Regions from separate parts of the Homo sapiens genome. Here regions 1 and 3 are each linked to region 2. Evidence: promoter capture Hi-C in 16 types of primary human blood cells and fetal thymus (Javierre and others, 2016). All regions are on one chromosome and are shown on one strand. The core of a region is centred on a gene start or on the middle of the fragment in contact, and the rest is flanking DNA. Distances in the headings are between cores, read along the strand shown. Region 1 overlaps TSPAN14 (tetraspanin 14). Region 2 holds the start of DYDC1 (DPY30 domain containing 1). Region 3 holds the start of PLAC9 (placenta associated 9).

What was found. Contacts are between HindIII fragments. The CHiCAGO score rates a contact against its expected background, and 5 or more counts as called.
Region 1: a fragment that was not itself captured here is called in contact with the fragment with the promoter of DYDC1 in region 2 in 1 of 17 cell types (fetal thymus); the score reaches 8.2 in fetal thymus.
Region 3: the fragment with the promoter of PLAC9 here is called in contact with the fragment with the promoter of DYDC1 in region 2 in 9 of 17 cell types (fetal thymus, non-activated CD4 T cells, erythroblasts and 6 more); the score reaches 7.2 in fetal thymus.

What each region holds. Positions count from the first base shown.
Region 1 is chr10:80,507,312-80,510,513 of GRCh38, forward strand. TSPAN14 (tetraspanin 14) reads left to right here. Exons shown (of 9, transcript NM_030927.4): 4 at 1-63; 5 at 1,990-2,160. Among named protein-coding and RNA genes, the nearest start is that of TSPAN14-AS1, 27 kb to the right of the region's middle. The HindIII fragment of the contact is 2,011 bases long and covers 634-2,644 here.
Region 2 is chr10:80,355,085-80,358,097 of GRCh38, forward strand. It overlaps DYDC1 (DPY30 domain containing 1), which reads right to left and starts at 1,671. Exons shown (of 7, transcript NM_001269053.2): 1 at 1,628-1,671. It overlaps DYDC2 (DPY30 domain containing 2), which reads left to right and starts at 1,697. Exons shown (of 5, transcript NM_032372.6): 1 at 1,697-1,741; 2 at 2,809-2,961. The HindIII fragment of the contact is 3,945 bases long and covers 1-3,013 here.
Region 3 is chr10:80,130,858-80,134,060 of GRCh38, forward strand. It overlaps PLAC9 (placenta associated 9), which reads left to right and starts at 1,873. Exons shown (of 4, transcript NM_001012973.3): 1 at 1,873-1,969. The coding sequence starts at 1,906. The HindIII fragment of the contact is 6,415 bases long and covers 1-3,203 here.

The sequences.
Region 1 (3,202 bases), core at 389-2,888, 150 kb after region 2:
TTCACCCTGGGGTTCGCCGGCTGCGTGGGGGCTCTGCGGGAGAATATCTGCTTGCTCAACTTTGTGAGTGGCCACAGAGACAAGAGTGGGATAGGATGCAATGGGGTACAGGCTCTGCTGGGCAGGATTATATGTTACCTGGTCAGAGCAGGTGGCAGCTCTTAGGAGCCTCCCCTAGGCCCCTGCCTGGGAGCAGGAGGCAGCCATTTGCACTCTACTGTCTAGAGAAGCTGGTTCCTCCCAGCAGGAGAATTAGGTACCCTCTGGTTTTTAGCCCTGGGTGGGAGGAGCCAGCTGCCTATAGGCCAGCTCTACTCCCCGCTCCTTTGCCTTTTATCTTCCTTCAGAAATTCTAAAAGAATTGTTTGTCTGCTACTGTCCTTTGCCCTTCCTGGCTAAGATCAAAAGATGTTGCAAGTAACCTTAAATCATTTCCCTCCTCCAAGGATGTGTGAGTCTGTTGGATGTACAAGTCAGAATCCCAAATTTCCTGGCAGAACTGCAGATTACTAAGAGTTTAGTTTTATATTTAGATACAAATTCATGTTTAGATTTATTCAGTTAAATAACACCTGGTGGGGAAAACACATTATCATATTTTGCAGTATATTGTTTGTTGACTTCATTAGATCAAGCTTTCTTTTTCTTGGACATAATTTTAAAAGCAAAACTATGGGCTTTTTGTCCTAATTTTTTCTCTGGAAAAAAAAAAGAAAAGCTATGTTTAGCATCTTGCTTTTATATGAACAGAGATTACGTTTTGGCAGGCCTTGTGTGCATATGTGTGTTTCCTTTTTCTTTTCTTTTCTTTTTTTTTTTTTTGATACCGAGTCTCGCTCTGTTGCCCAGGCTGGAGTGCAGTGGCGTGATCTCGGCTAACTGCAAGCTCCGCCTCCCGGGTTCACACCATTCTCCTGCCTCAGCCTCCCGAGTAGCTGGGACTACAGGCGCCCGCTACCATGCCTGGCTAATTTTTTTTTGTATTTTTAGTAGAGACGGGGTTTCACCGTGTTAGCCAGGATGGTCTCCATCTCCTGACCTTGTGATCCTCTCGCCTCGGCCTCCCAAAGTGCTGGGATTACAGGCGTGAACCACCGCGCCCGGCCGTGTGTATGCTTTTTCTTACTTTGAAAGATTACTCCAAATTGGCCGGTTGTGGCAAGCTGCTTAGTGTCTTATATGGCCAGTGATAATGTCTGTGAGAGCGCAGACTGCAGGCTGGGAGTCTGCCCTGATGGGATGTGGACCTGTGGCTGCACTGGCCCCTTGCAGAATGCCACCACTGCTTGTGGCCTGGGGCAGCTGAGCTTCTGGAGGGGTCTTTATGCTGACGATCATATACTTTCATGCAGAGTTGGTACAGATAACATTGGCACTTCCAGAATTGTAAAGAGCCCTGCAGGGAACTCACATGTCCTGCATGAACTATGTGACCTCAGGCAAGCTATGTACCTCGTGACATAGCCATAGTTTCCTCATCCCTAAAGTGAGGTAACAGATACGTAGGCACTCGATGGTTTTGTGTGTGTAGTGGGGAGTCATCAGATAATGTCTTGGGCACAGTGTCTGTCCTAAAGGAGCCGACACCCCAGGATGCCACCCTGGAGGGTCCAGGTGGAACTGCTGGGGTAGGACAGCCATTCATTCCTGTGATAGGGGTCTCCTCCTTGTCCAGGGAGGAGGGCTGCTTCATAGCAAGTGATTGACACATTGGCTTGGAGCTTTCTCACACTTTTTCACGCATTTGAGTGTTATCAGCAATGCAGTGACATGGGTAGGGATAAATAGCCCCTTTTTACAGATGAAGCGAAGTTGTGCAGAGTCACCCAGCTAACTCTAAGTGTGGGGTTCTGGGGCCCCGATGTGGGACTCTCAGGTGCAGAGCCCACGCTCTGCTGAGGATGGTGGTTCTGGGTCAGGTGGGGTTATGTGTGTGGGGGTGCAGGCTGGTGGGGTGGTGACTTCTGCTCCCGTCCCCTTCCCCTGCAGTTCTGTGGCACCATCGTGCTCATCTTCTTCCTGGAGCTGGCTGTGGCCGTGCTGGCCTTCCTGTTCCAGGACTGGGTGAGGGACCGGTTCCGGGAGTTCTTCGAGAGCAACATCAAGTCCTACCGGGACGATATCGATCTGCAAAACCTCATCGACTCCCTTCAGAAAGCTGTAAGCACCTCCCCAGCGGGCCCCCGATAGAGCATGCACCTCCCTGTGCTGCCTGGAGCTGAGTCTAGCAGGGGCATCAGGCCTTCTCTGTGGGTTGTCTGCCTGCAGCTTGGCAGACAGCAGGGAGGCCGTGGAACAAGCCACTCCACCTCTGGTCTGTTCCACTTTGCCGGCTTGTGGTTGCCTGGTGGGCCAGCCCTTTCCCATTGGGATTGGGCAGGCAAGTCCAGCTGTACCCGAGGCCACCCACCCCCCACGTGCCCGGCCCTCCTCTTTCGGCCCCAGATCTTTCCAATCCTGCCCAATAGCCATACCAGCTGCAATCCTCCTTAGGCGCTGCATACCGTAAGGCACAGCTTCTTCCCCCCGGCTCATGACTCACCATCTGACGCTATTCCTATCCCCTTCCTCCCCGGGACCTTTTCCCCTTCCTCCCTGGGACCTTTTCCCCTTCCTGTTTAAGAAGCCAGGGCTGCCTGGAGGAAGCTTTGTCAGATCTAGTGGAATGTGACCTCCCTGGAATATGTGCCCAGGGGTTTGTCTAAGCAGTTCCAGGCTATGGCCTTTACTCCATCTGGTCCCCATCCCTCTTATCTCTCTCATGTGTGGCTGCACCTGGACGCTTGGACCATAGCTGTCACAGCCCCCTGGGGAGGAACCCACTCCTTGGCCATGTCAGCCTGTGCAATGCAAGGCTCTTGTTTGATCTGTGTGCTGACAGAAAGCCCAGCTTCCTTAAGAACTTTTCATGTGGAACACTTTGGTTTTGAGAAGAAAATAAATCAGAAACCATTAAAAATCTATGATTCACTCTCATTATTAACCAAAACTTGTTCACCTTTATTTCATGTATTATGGGATCCAGCAAAACCCATTTATGGGACCAAAGACCCTGCCTGTATTGTTATTACTAATGTGTATTAGTCTGTGAAAGTCACCAAATCCCCGCCATGTTTTGATGCCTCTCCTTTCTTTTCTGTTCAGTGCCACCGTCCTTTTTTCATTTTCACGTAGCCTTGGCTTGCCTGGTCTCAGCATGCTA
Region 2 (3,013 bases), core at 421-2,920:
TTACATTTACTGAAAAAAAAAAACAGTAAAATTAACACGACAAAGAAGAGAAGAGTCTTCTAGGTATGAGGAAAGGCCCTGATATAGGAATGAGCATGGCAATTACAGGGGATAGAATGCCACTGTGTCTAAACTTGTCCCTGGACAAATGCATCTAGCATTTTGCATAAAATTTCAGAGACAGTGACATCCTGGGGTCCGTCCATAACCCCCAATTTTTATTCTATGGATGAACCCCAGGATGTCAGTGTCTCTGAAATTTTATGCCATAACTATGTGCATATGCCATATGACAGTGGTGGGAGGGCAAAATGGTATAACTCCTATGGAGGAGAATTTGACAACATCTAGAAAATCACATATGCATTCACCCTTTGACTCATCAATCTTGCTTCTTGGATCCTATCTCAAAGATATAGTTGCAAAAATATGAAATGGCATATGCACACAGTTATTTGCAGCATTATTTACAATAGTCACACTGAAGCACCATCTAAATGTTCATCAAATTGGGGATTAATAAGAGCAACACAATGGATTATTATGCAGATGTACAAGAGAATGAAGAAACTAGAGAGTGATCTCTAAGACACAGAATAAAGAAAACGAGGTGCTGAAATTGTATATGGTCTGTCATCTTTTGTATTAGCAACAGCAGTGGGGAAAGGAATGTGTATGTGTGTATATGTAAACATAGTCATAAAAACTCTAAAAACGGAAAACAAACTGGCACAAATGAACCTAATTCCAAATGAGGTTGATATTGGTGTCTCAACCATACAGAGAAAAGAATTATTACAACTGACTTTGGAACACAGTATCTTCACTGTATTTCTTCAGTAGGATATACCTGAAAGACCAAAACGCTACACAGACATCTCAAAGTCATTTGAAGTGAAGTTAAAAAAAAAAAAAAAAAAAGGTGCACAGACTCCTGTTGCTGCTCCAGAAGGATAAAATGTGGGAAGGGAGGAAGGGGACCATTATCCCTAAAGAGAAAACTTCTGGCCTACCAGCGGGGCCAGGTCAGGGGAGGCTCTGTCTCGGATTTCTGGGCATATCAGTGGGACCCAGGCAAGGCCTGCCAACTCCCTTAGCATGTTCCTGTCTGTGAAACGAGGATAATACCCATCTCTCCTGTGGTAAGCAATGTTATTTTTCACATACACCAATAGGCATCTTGGCTCAACATAAGAAAGCCCTTTCCCACAGAAACAGCTGCCTCCAGCGTGAAGAAGGTGCCACAGAGATGGAAGGAGATTCCTTACCCACACCTGGGAGACAGCTAGCCAGCCAGCCAGCCAACTGGGCGGGGGCACCCGGGCAGGGGTGCCAGATACAGTATTGTATCTGGCAACCTCCCGGGGCGCTCAGTGTGGTTTTCCCACCCGGGAGTCTGGAAGGGTCTCCCGCAGCCCGCAGGAGACGCAGCGCTCCCCGCTCAGGGGGAGCAGGAGGACAGCTGGCCGCTTTCGGGAGCCCCAGGCGCGAAGCGGCCTCTCTCCGCCTCAGGTGAGTCCTGCTCGACGCCCAAGGCCCAACGGTCAGAACCGCCTCTGCCCGCCGGACCCAGCGAAGCTAGGGGAACAAATCCCAAAAACAGTTCGGGCCTTTCCGGTGCGCTCACCCCTACACACGCGCCTGCTCGCCACCCAGGAGCGGCGTCCCGTTGCCAGGCAACGAGAGCTCGCGCCTCAGGAGCCAGTGTAGGCGCCGCAAAGCGGAAGGGGCGCGCGGATAGGTGAGCAGAGGGCACGCGGTGGGCAGCGAAGGGGGAACGCGCAGCAGAGAGGAGAGGGCGTGCAGGAGTAGGAGCAGGCGGCAGAGTAGAGGGGGCGCGGCAGAGTAGAGGGGGCGCGGCAGAGTGGAGGGGGCGTGCAGGAGTAGGAGCCCGCCGCAGAGTAGAGGGGGCGCGGCAGAGAGGAGGGGGCGTGCAGGCGCGGGGCGCCCGGCAGAGAGAAGGGGTCGTGCGGAAGGGGGCGCGCGCCAGGGGAGGGGGCCAGAGAGGAGGGGGCGTTCAGGAGTCGGGCCTGCGGCAGAGATGAGGCGGTGTGCAGGAGGGAGAGCGCGCACGAGGGGGCAACGGGCAGAGAGGAGAGGGAATGAAAGAAGGGGAGCGTGGCAGAGAGAAGCGGGCGCGCTCCAGGGGGCGGGGTCCAGGGAGGAGGGGGAGCGTAGGATCGGGGCGGGAGGCAGAGAGGAGCGGGCACGCGGGACGGGCGTGTGCTCGTGAGGGGTCGAGGAAAGGCGTATGTGGAGGCGCGCGGGGTGGGTGAGCCGAGGAGACTTGCTACACAGAAACCTGGAGGAGTAGGGGCACACAAAAGAGCAAGGGACCCTGACTGGCAGCCCGGCATGCTCTGGGAGAGACAAAGAGGTGGCGGGCTTTGAGGAGGAACCAGGAAGGGCAGCCAATCGGAAAAGGGTGGAAGACCTTCCAGAGTCCCTGGAAGACCGTCACTGCAAGCTGCTAATAGCTTGGCAGTTTCACAACTCTGCACCTTTGCTCTTGCTGGTGACCTCTGCTTGGTTCCTTTCAGAACCAATTCGGGTGCCCCACCACCGGGAAGCCGTCCAGTCTCCACCAGGCCCAAACCCTTGCAGTCTTCCCTGGCCTAGTCGTCTGTGCATGTGCTAGCCTTTCCTGTGCTCTCTTTCAGCTTATGGGCGGGGCAGTGCCAGGCAAGAGAGGCCTTAATAGATGTTAGTTGAGCTAGTAAATGCCAGATTGGGCGTGGAAAAATCAAAGGGAAGCATGAGGGCAGGTGGCAGAACTCTCTCAATGAATAAGTCAAGAAATATTTACAGAGCTCCCAGTGTGCCAAGCGTGGGCGGTATACAGTAAACAAAGACAACCCCTATTCTTATCACCTTGCCTACTGAGTGCAAGTCCAGGAACTGTGTAAGCAGACCCTCAGAGGAGCTCTGGGAAACACTGAAAAATAGCCTCTCCCCCCATTGGTGAGTGTACCCTAAGTTGGTCTGAGTGGGCTTTAAAAGGCATCCCCTTGGC
Region 3 (3,203 bases), core at 623-3,122, 220 kb before region 2:
GAGTCTTGCTCTGTTGCCCAGGCTGGAGTGCAGTGGTGCAATCTTGGCTCACTGCCACTTCCGCCTCCTGGGTTCTGATTCTCCTGCCTCAGCCTCCTGAGTAGCTGGGACTACAGGCGCCCAACACCACGCCCTGCTAATTTTTTGTATTTTTAGCAGAGACGGAGTTTCACCACGTTGGCCAGGTTGGTCTCAAACTCCTGGCCTCAGGTGATCCACCCACCTCGGCCTACCAAAGTGCTGGGATTACAGGCGTGAGCCACTGCACCCAGCCAAGATTTAATGTTATGACTGAGATAAACATGAATGAAAGCAAATCTTCAAAATATCTATGACTTGATCTCATGTATATACATTTGTGTCTGAATATACATTAGGTAGATGGGGAATGCATAGACGTGGAACAGGCAGAGCCTACCAAGTTGAGGGGACTGGACCTGAATCATTGGACGGAGGGAATTCGTAACAGAAAAGACTTTCATGTTTTACTCTGTATACTTAATTACTTTATGCTCTACCGCAACAATAATGTATTGTATATGTTTTTGTGTGTGTGTGTGTTTTCTTAGTCTTAAATTCAAAATATAAGGTAGCCCACTGGCTCTAAGCTACAAGAATCCTTATGAGTTGGGCAGTTCTTTGACAACTTTTTTTCCCACCTGGCGAAACTATCAAGGAATGTCCTACCACCAAGCGTGAGAAATTTTTGGCATTCCTGAAATAAATTCTTCTTCTGAGCCAGCTCATGTGGGCATCATAATCTCCTTGAAGGCTTTTAAAAGATTTAGATCTGAGTCTGTCTCAGATTCTCGGGCTCAGAACCAGAATTTCTCCGTCTGAGGCTACTATCTTGCTCTGGAGGAGGGAGTGAGAACTGGATCACTGGTTAGCGTGGTAACTGTTTTGGACAATTGCATAGCCACAGCCAGGAACACAGAAGGCAGAGAGGCAGCCTTGATCTGCAAGAGCTCCAGGTAATCCCAACGGGGACCCTTGATGGACAAAGGCATTCTCCCAGGCTTGGTGATGAATGTGTTCCACTTACAGCCAGACGAGACACTCACTCAGGGCTCTGCAGCAGAGAAGTTAGAGCTACAGCTTTTTTGCTTTGTGTTTTTACTAAAACTTAATTTGTTGTTGCACTTGTTGGATGGGCATGTCCCATAGGGGAAGTTTCCACTACTGTGCTCTAAACTTTGGGCTGCTTGTACCATCTTACTTATCCCCTCATTAATAATGAATTGAATAAAATCTTTAGTATATGCTAATTTCATATCTTTGCGAGAGTTACGATTTTACCTTTTCTTTTTAAAATTACCTTTTCATATTTCTATCACTCCCTTACCAGAGCAGTGAGTTTCTGGGTCTCCCTCTTAGGGGCAGACACTGTTCCATGTAATTAGAATTAATTTCTTGTTCGTAGGTAGACAGAGAAAAGCTGCCAAACTCCCAGGAGACAGGGGTTCAGATCCTGTGCTATGGCTGAGAGTGATGCCGAGGAAGACACTTCCCTCCGAGTCTTAGTCTGCCCGCCTGTGAAACTGGCTCGTAACAAACCCCTGACCCCAGGCTCGGTCGCCTTGAGCCCAAGACCTCACCCAATGCCCCCCGCCCCGCCTTCCCTCCCGGGCTCCCAGGAGGTGCGGGGACTCGGGGGGCGGCCCCTTCCTCGGGAGGCGCCCAGGTGGCACGTCGGTGCCTCAGCTCCCGGGGTCTCTGGGCTCCGCGCTGCCCACGGGGTGCCGAGGGGCCTCTGGAGGGGGCGGGTTCTCTCGAGCCAGAAAGTCCGGAGCCGCCCAGGAATTTTGGCTCGAACTGAGTGCATTTCCTCTCGGGCCGGCCGGGTGCGATCCGGGAAGGGCGGCTGCGGGCAGACGCGGCGCTGCGCTCGGCCAGGCCGGCACCATGCGGCCCCTGCTCTGCGCGCTGACCGGACTGGCCCTGCTCCGCGCCGCGGGCTCTTTGGCCGGTGAGTGGGGCGCAGGGCGCGGCAGGGGACCTGGAGCCGGGGAGACCCGCAGATGGCGAGGAAGGAATGAGCGAGAGAGACGGAGAGAGAGCTGGACACAGCAGCGAGATGGACAGAGAGGCAGATGCAGGGAGGGAGGGATGGAGAGAAAGATTGAGAGGAAACAGACTCAGAAAAAGGCAGAGAAGTAGAGCAACGGAGAGATAAAGGAGATAGGGAAGAATACACAGTGAAAAGGAAAAAGGAGAGGCTGAGACAGAAAGAGGCTTCCCCTGAACAGATATGAACTAAGATAGAAAGAAAAAGGAGTTTGAGAGACAAAAGAGAAGAAGGAAAGAGAAAAAGTGATTAAAATGGCAAGGGGTGGAGGGAGAGAGGATATTGAAGAAAAGAGAAAGATTTGAGAGAGACCAAAAAGGAGAGAGAGGGAAGCTCGATGCCCGGAGTAGAGCTGGCAAGAGAGAAGGAGCCAGGATCTGGAGTGGGAGGTCACAGCTGCTGGGTGGGGCAGCCCCGGAGGCCAGCTCCATCTCAGAGGGCCTGTGGAGGCTCAGGCCTGGCTTTATAGGACATTGCATAAGAAGCCACACTCCAAAGGATGAGTGACCCAGGCTAGCCCAGCACAGCCTTAAGGAACCAGGCAGTCGGGCCCAGGAGAAAGGCCACCGATTCACCTGCCAGGTGGCCTCAGGTGGATCTGCAGTCAGTGAAGAAGTCAGCCTCCCGGTTTCCAGGGAGCTTCTCTGGGAAACTGAGCTATGTTGGGTGGAGATGGGGGACTGGGTGGAGGTGGAGAGCTGTGCGGAGGAGAGAGGCTGTCTGGGTACTCCATTAGCTGGGTTCCTTGCTTTTCACTGTCCGCTTTCTTCCCCTCACCTACCCCTCAGGCGGGCGGATCACAAGCTCAGGAGATCAAGACCAGCCTCGCTAACATGGTGAAATGCTGTCTCTATTAAAAATACAAAAAATTAATCGGGCGTGGTGGCACATGCCTGTAGTCCCAGCTACTCGGCAGGCTGAGGCAGGAGAATCACTTGAACCTGGGAGGCGGAGGTTGCAGTGAGCCGAGATCAAGCCACCGCAATCCAGCCTGGGTGACAGAGCAAGACTCAGTTTCAAAAAAAAAAAAAAAAGAAGAAGGAAAGGAGGAAAGTATTCATGTATTAGTGTAATTTCACACTGATTTCATATATTTTTGTGCATAATCTTTCAGATTTTAGATGATATATCTTAA